Linked DNA regions of Homo sapiens: region 1 is linked to region 2. The links are contacts of gene promoters, found by promoter capture Hi-C in blood cells and fetal thymus (Javierre and others, 2016). All regions are on one chromosome and are shown on one strand. Each heading gives the region's core, a stretch centred on a gene start or on the middle of the fragment in contact. The rest is flanking DNA. Distances are from core to core; before and after follow the strand shown. Region 1 holds the start of OTUD6B (OTU deubiquitinase 6B). Region 2 holds the start of RBIS (ribosomal biogenesis factor).

Region 1 (2,844 bases), core at 143-2,642, 5.8 Mb after region 2:
CAATTGCCTCCCTATTCTTATTTTAATTCAGGTTCTCTGTTAGCTGCAGTAAATCCTTCAGCAAAATTTTCAGGGAAAGTTCTTGGTTGATATACTTTCCTAACCCCTGTATATCTAAGAATGTCTTCCAGTTTCCTTTGTAAAGAAATGATAACTTGGCAGAGTATATAATTCTTGGCTCAAAATTATTTTCCCTTAACACTCTAGATATTGTTCCACTGTCTTCTGGCATTTAGAATTGCAGGAGAAAAATCTGAGGTCAGCCTGACTTTTGCCCCTTTGTAAGTAACCTGCTTTCTCTGACTGGATGCTTGTAAAATGTTTCGTCTTTGAAATTCAAAAACGTCACCCGGATATGTCTAGATGCTGCTTTCTTTTCATTAAACTTTAAAGGTATCCTATGAGCCTTTTCCATTTGTAGATCTAGTTCGTTCTTCAATTCTGGAAAATTTTTTCAAGTAGATCCTTTATTGTTTCAGCTCCACTTGCTCTGTCCTCAGTTTCAGGTATTCCTATTATGCATAGATTGTATCTCCTGGACCGGCCCTCTAGATCTCTCTTTTTCTCCTCTTAATTTCTTTTCCCCTTTTCTCTGTATTCTGTGACAATTTGTCGTTTTGCACTTACTTCAGTAATTCGATTTTGTGGCCAATCCAGCGTGCGCCCTTCTGTTAACTCTCTCAACTTCCTGGTATTTTCCAAGCGCTCTAATAGTACCCTCTTTATCATCGCGCATAGGTGTTTAAGCTCCTGTATTATATGATTCTCAATCCTTCTTATATCTTGTTTCCATCTCTATATCCGTTTCAAGAGGAGGCATTTTCTCGATTATTTAGCGCTGCTCCTTTTTTCTCAGGGGCGGTATTACGACCTTGGAGACAATAAACATAATTTAATTCCACACAGCCCCAAACAGCCCAAAGATTCCCATTGATAATTATCGACGGCTTTATTAAAATGCGTTATTTTTCTTTCTTACCTTTTCAGTTGCTTTTCTTAGAAACAGGGACCAAAATCAAAGATTAAAGAGGTCCTCTGAAGCAGGGAATGAAATAGACGTTGAAAACTATTCCCGTTACGCCATCTCTGCGCGCCTCACGTCAGGGCCAAGAGCCTAGCGCGTAGCTTTATGGCTGACTCGGCTCTGGCGCTCTAGCCAATTCCGAGGCTGCAAACTCCGCTTCTCCGCTCGCAGTCTGGTTCCTCCCCTGCCGCCCCGCCCATCACGGCAGGGTCACGGTAGCGCGCACGCGCAGCACCCCATTTAAGTTTCTCGTCTTTGCAGTGGCTTTGCTTAGATCCGGTGCCGCCTTGAAGGCGGGGCTGGGTCCCAGCCGTAGCCAATGGAGCCCCGGGTGAGGGTTGAGGGGTGGAAGGTGCCTACTAGCCGGTGCAGGTTTCTTCTAGCGCGTGTGCTGGGGTACCTGGTCGTCATGGAGGCGGTATTGACCGAAGAGCTTGATGAGGAAGAGCAGCTGCTGAGAAGGCATCGCAAAGAGAAGAAGGAGTTGCAAGGTGAGGCGGAAGGAAGTGGGAATCTGGAAGCCGCCGCGACTGGGGGAAGGGCGCGTGGCGGGTCGATTCTGGGGAATCTCAAGGCGTGACTTATCTGGATCACCCTAGACTTCCCCTAGTAGCAAGTGGCCTCTTCTCTCTTCACCTACCCCGGCGGCCCTTTAATTCCCCAACCTTCAGAGGCTTCCCCTTCTGAGGCCTGCGGCGTGCCCCCTACCCCGCGCCGCCGCCGGGGTGCAGGTGTCTGAAAATACCTAGAAGCCGCCGTCTTGGTCCGCTCCCAAACCCACGATGCCTCCCTTTTCTATACCTGCCCCAGTTACCGATACTTGTCCCTAATGGGTGTATTTTGAATGGACCCGCCTCAGTTTAGGAGGTTCAGAAAGGATACCGGAAAGATTTAAAACTGGCTACAGTCAGGTTTTTTTCCTTCTCTTATCTCGCCAAACAACCGAAACATATTCAAGATTTTGTTAATGAAGTTTTTTTTTTTTTTGGTCTCAGCTTTATCTGGGATCTTCTCTCTCTGTAGCTGCCTGTTACGTGATGACTCTTTCTTCCATAATTACTTTTTCTGTACCCTTCGCCCGTTACCATCCCCTTATTGGTTCCTGTTTCTCATCTCCTTTTACTCCTGCGTGTCTGACTTAATGATTTTAATGGCTTTTCAGCCAAAATTCAGGGCATGAAGAATGCTGTTCCCAAGAATGACAAGAAGAGGAGGAAGCAACTCACCGAAGATGTGGCCAAGTTGGAAAAAGAAATGGAACAGAAACATAGAGAGGAACTGGAGCAATTGAAGCTGACTACTAAGGAGAATAAGGTATGTGAAATAAATGTTTGTCGTTGCCTACACCATTTGAAAACAGCTGTCCACTTCTGTTAAATGTTAAACTGCTTTTTTTTTTTTTTTTGAGACGGTGTCTCGCTTTGCAAAACACGCTCAATCTTGGCTCACTGCAAGCTCCGCCTCCCGGGTTCAGGCCATTCTCCTGCCTCAGCCTCCCGAGTAGCTGGTACTACGGGCGCCCGCCACTACGCCCGGCTAATTTTTTGTATTTTTAGTAGAGACAGGGTTTCACCATGTTAGCCAAGACGGTGTCGATCTCCTGACCTTGTGATCCACCCGCCTCGGCCTCCCAAAGTGCTGGGATTACAGGCGTGAGCCACCGTGCCCGGCCCTGTTAAACTGTTTATTATCTAAAATCATAAAATTGGTAGGGAAATGAAATCACTTAGTTATGCTCATGCATCACTTCTCATTAATGTTTTTGTGACCAAGTTTACAGGGCAGTGTGTTTCTATAAGGGAGATCGGCAAAGAAAGTGC
Region 2 (2,994 bases), core at 220-2,719:
GCTGCTTTCCTGCTATAACTATGACCCACAAAGTCCAAAATATTTAGTGTCCGACCTTTAACAGAAAGTCTGCCAACTCCTGGCTTAAGCCATCTGCACAGTGGCTATCTGGCACCAAGCTATGCGATCGACCTTCCCAATGTTAAAAACCTTCAACAGTTTTCCCAATGTATAAGGGGCAACGTGCCTTGGCTTGGCATATTACTGGCACTCTGAATCTACCCTAAATCTGCCACACATATCTCCTGTTACGTCCCTATAAACACTGCTCTAGCCAGCCTGGTCTAACTGTTCTCTTGCACAGACACCTTGAACATTCTTCCTTTTTTACCTTTGCTCAGTCGTAGTCTTGACTGAAATTTATATCTTCCTTCAATGTAGCCTTACTACATTGTAAGTAATTAAGGAACTACTTAACTGAAACAGCAATGCTTTTGAACGCCAACAGTATTCCTCCTACTTAAAAAAGAATGCAGTAGAAAATACATGGTTATTACAGAAGATGCAAAAAATAAAATACACATAATAAAACCCCTCAAATGAAGTACTCTAAAATCATTCCAAGCCGGGCGCGGTGGCTCATGCCTGTAATCCCAGCACTTTGGGAGGCCGAGGCGGACGGATCACTTGAGGCCAGGAGTTCGAGACCACCCTGGCCAACATGATGAAACCCCGTTTCCACTAAAAAAAATTAAAATTAGCCGGGCGTGGTGACGCGCGCCTCTAATCCCAGCTACTCGGGAGGCTGAGACACGAGGAGGCGGAGGTTGCAGTGAGCCGAGATCACGCCACTGCACACCAGCCTGGGCGACAGACTGAGACTCAGTCTCAAAAATAAATAAATAAAAATTAAAATAAAATAATTACAATAGTAACCAAAATCCAATCATTCATCTAGTATAAATCAATTGCTATATGCCACGTGTGGTAGAGAACCTATATTTTATACACAAAAAATATATATGGAACATAAATAATGACAGTATATATACGGAACATACACAGACATGATAGGTATATTGTACATGACACTACCTATAATATACACATGGACCATGAACAGACAGTCTACAAGTGGAGAGGTTTACTAGAGCTGTAGACCTGAGCAAGGTTCGTGGAGAAAGTAATACACTAGTGGGGGTGTGCGAGTGGAGGGAAATTCTCTGAAAACCACGTAGAAACTGATCATGAAAGACACAGCCCAAAACTGGGACCCCGTCAGGAGATGAAAGCCCAACAAGCACCGGGGTTTCGGGCCTGCTACCCAGTAGGGCTGCCTGAGGCAGAGCGCGACGGAACCGAGCCTACAGGCCACAGCGGTACGAGACCGGCCCAATCCAACCCCGACCCCTGCAAACTTCACGCCAGCCCTCCAGAAAACTTAATTTATTAAACTCTCACCAGAAGTTTAACACTTGCGTGCAGCTTTTTAAGCTCCAGGTAACACCATCTGGCACGTACGGCGTCTAGGAAGTTCCGGGGAGGATGAACCAGTCAGGATTCCGCTCACGAGCCGTAGCTCCGCCCACCGAACGGAGCCCCGTCCATAGGCGGAAGTCCCGCCCATAGAGTGAGTTCCCACCCACCTGGCGTAGTCCCGCCCATAGAGCCAAGTCTAAGGAGCAAGGTGCAGTGAAAAAGCGAAGCCCCACCCATAGAGCGAGGTTCGGAAGTCCAGTCTCATTAGCATCCCTTGTCTTCCGCGGTGTTGCAGACTTATCCTCAGCTCAAGCGAGTTTGGGGCGTTATGGAGCCAGCCAAGTCTCCCCTTGCTGGCGTGGGTACTTGTGCAGAAACTTCCCGAGGTGCTTCTGAGACTGCACAGTGAAGACCGCCGCACCGGAGGTCAGCGCTCCGCCGCGGACTCCCGGCTGACTCTGCCACTCTCCCAGGAGGAGGCGCTGTGCACCTCTGGGTGGTTTCCAGGGCTCGGCTGGCGGTAGAGGGAGCCTTGAGGTTGGAAAAGATCTAGAGCTATAATCTCCGAAAGGAAGATTTGTAATGCACTGCGAGTTAGAAATGTTTTTCTCACTGCAGCTTCCTTGTTTCAAAAAGAGAATTTTTGACAGCACTGCAAAGGCACAAGAAACCAGGCACAGTATAAAATATACAAATAAAACAGGTACCAAGGAACTTAAAACATTCAACCCATAACGTCGTCTAGGTTTTTCTGCTTTAAGAAAATTGACTCAATTCTTCCAAGAGAATAACCCTATTAAAGGTAAGTTTTCACATGTGCCTCTATTTATTTTGTTGAGGTCATAGGAAAAGCTGGATTTCAAACAAACGTAGATGTAAGAATTAAATAGAGGAGAGAAGCACGAAGGGTGGCTTTATAGTCAACAGGGACAGGTTTATTTTAAATAAACCTGAGACTGGCAGCTGGCCAAGTTAGGTCAGAGCCACACTCTCTTACAGACTAAGAGTTTTTAAGGATTCAGGGTGGGAGAGTTTAACAGAGGCTTGGACTGCTTCTGTGTCTCTTTGCTGTGCTTATCTGGGAGGGAGAGTTGTGTGTCTGTTCCCATACATCTTTCTGCAGCTGCAGGCATACCCGCAGCTAAAAGTCTGCTTTTAGCTTCCCTATCTTAGTACACCTGAAGGGAAAGGAATGTGCTTATTAAGGCCCACTGTTTCACTGGGGCTCATTGTATGAGGGTGAGGTTTGGTAGTTAGCCAAGAGATTTTCCCCCTACTTCACTCTGCCTGAGCTGTCTTATCTGTGTTTTACTGACTGCTCTTTCTATCTGCTTGTAATTAGAAGAGAAGTGATTTCCTTGAAATTCATGAGGCTAGAAAGGGAGCTGGAACTTAAAAATGGCGGTGTTTGTCCGAGATGACGGTGCTCCTGCTCTGTCAGTAAAACTGACATTTATATGCCATTTTGTAGCTTACAAAAGATTTCAGCCTACACTATGCTCAAAATAAGGTGATAAAACCACTCCTGTTTTGCAAGTGATGATACTACTAAGGTTCAGAGTTTAAGCCGTGTGC

Evidence for each region. The method cuts DNA at HindIII sites, captures the fragments that hold promoters and counts their contacts. A CHiCAGO score of 5 or more calls a contact.
Region 1: a contact is called between the fragment with the promoter of OTUD6B here and the fragment with the promoter of RBIS in region 2, in 1 of 17 cell types (naive CD8 T cells). The highest score is 7.4, in naive CD8 T cells.

What each region holds. Positions count from the first base shown.
Region 1 is chr8:91,068,952-91,071,795 of GRCh38, forward strand. It overlaps OTUD6B (OTU deubiquitinase 6B), which reads left to right and starts at 1,393. Exons shown (of 7, transcript NM_016023.5): 1 at 1,393-1,515; 2 at 2,187-2,338. The coding sequence starts at 1,434. OTUD6B-AS1 (OTUD6B antisense RNA 1) reads right to left here and starts at 1,238. Exons shown (of 3, transcript NR_110438.1): 1 at 980-1,238; 2 at 628-871. RefSeq lists an enhancer at 1,441-1,620. The HindIII fragment of the contact is 11,349 bases long and covers 1-2,844 here.
Region 2 is chr8:85,218,905-85,221,898 of GRCh38, forward strand. RBIS (ribosomal biogenesis factor) reads right to left here and starts at 1,470. Exons shown (of 4, transcript NM_001099673.3): 1 at 1,402-1,470. It overlaps LOC124901969 (a long non-coding RNA gene), which reads left to right and starts at 1,643. Exons shown (of 4, transcript XR_007060985.1): 1 at 1,643-2,221. RefSeq lists enhancers at 946-1,717, 1,327-1,456, 1,767-2,006, 2,490-2,994. The HindIII fragment of the contact is 10,198 bases long and covers 1-2,994 here.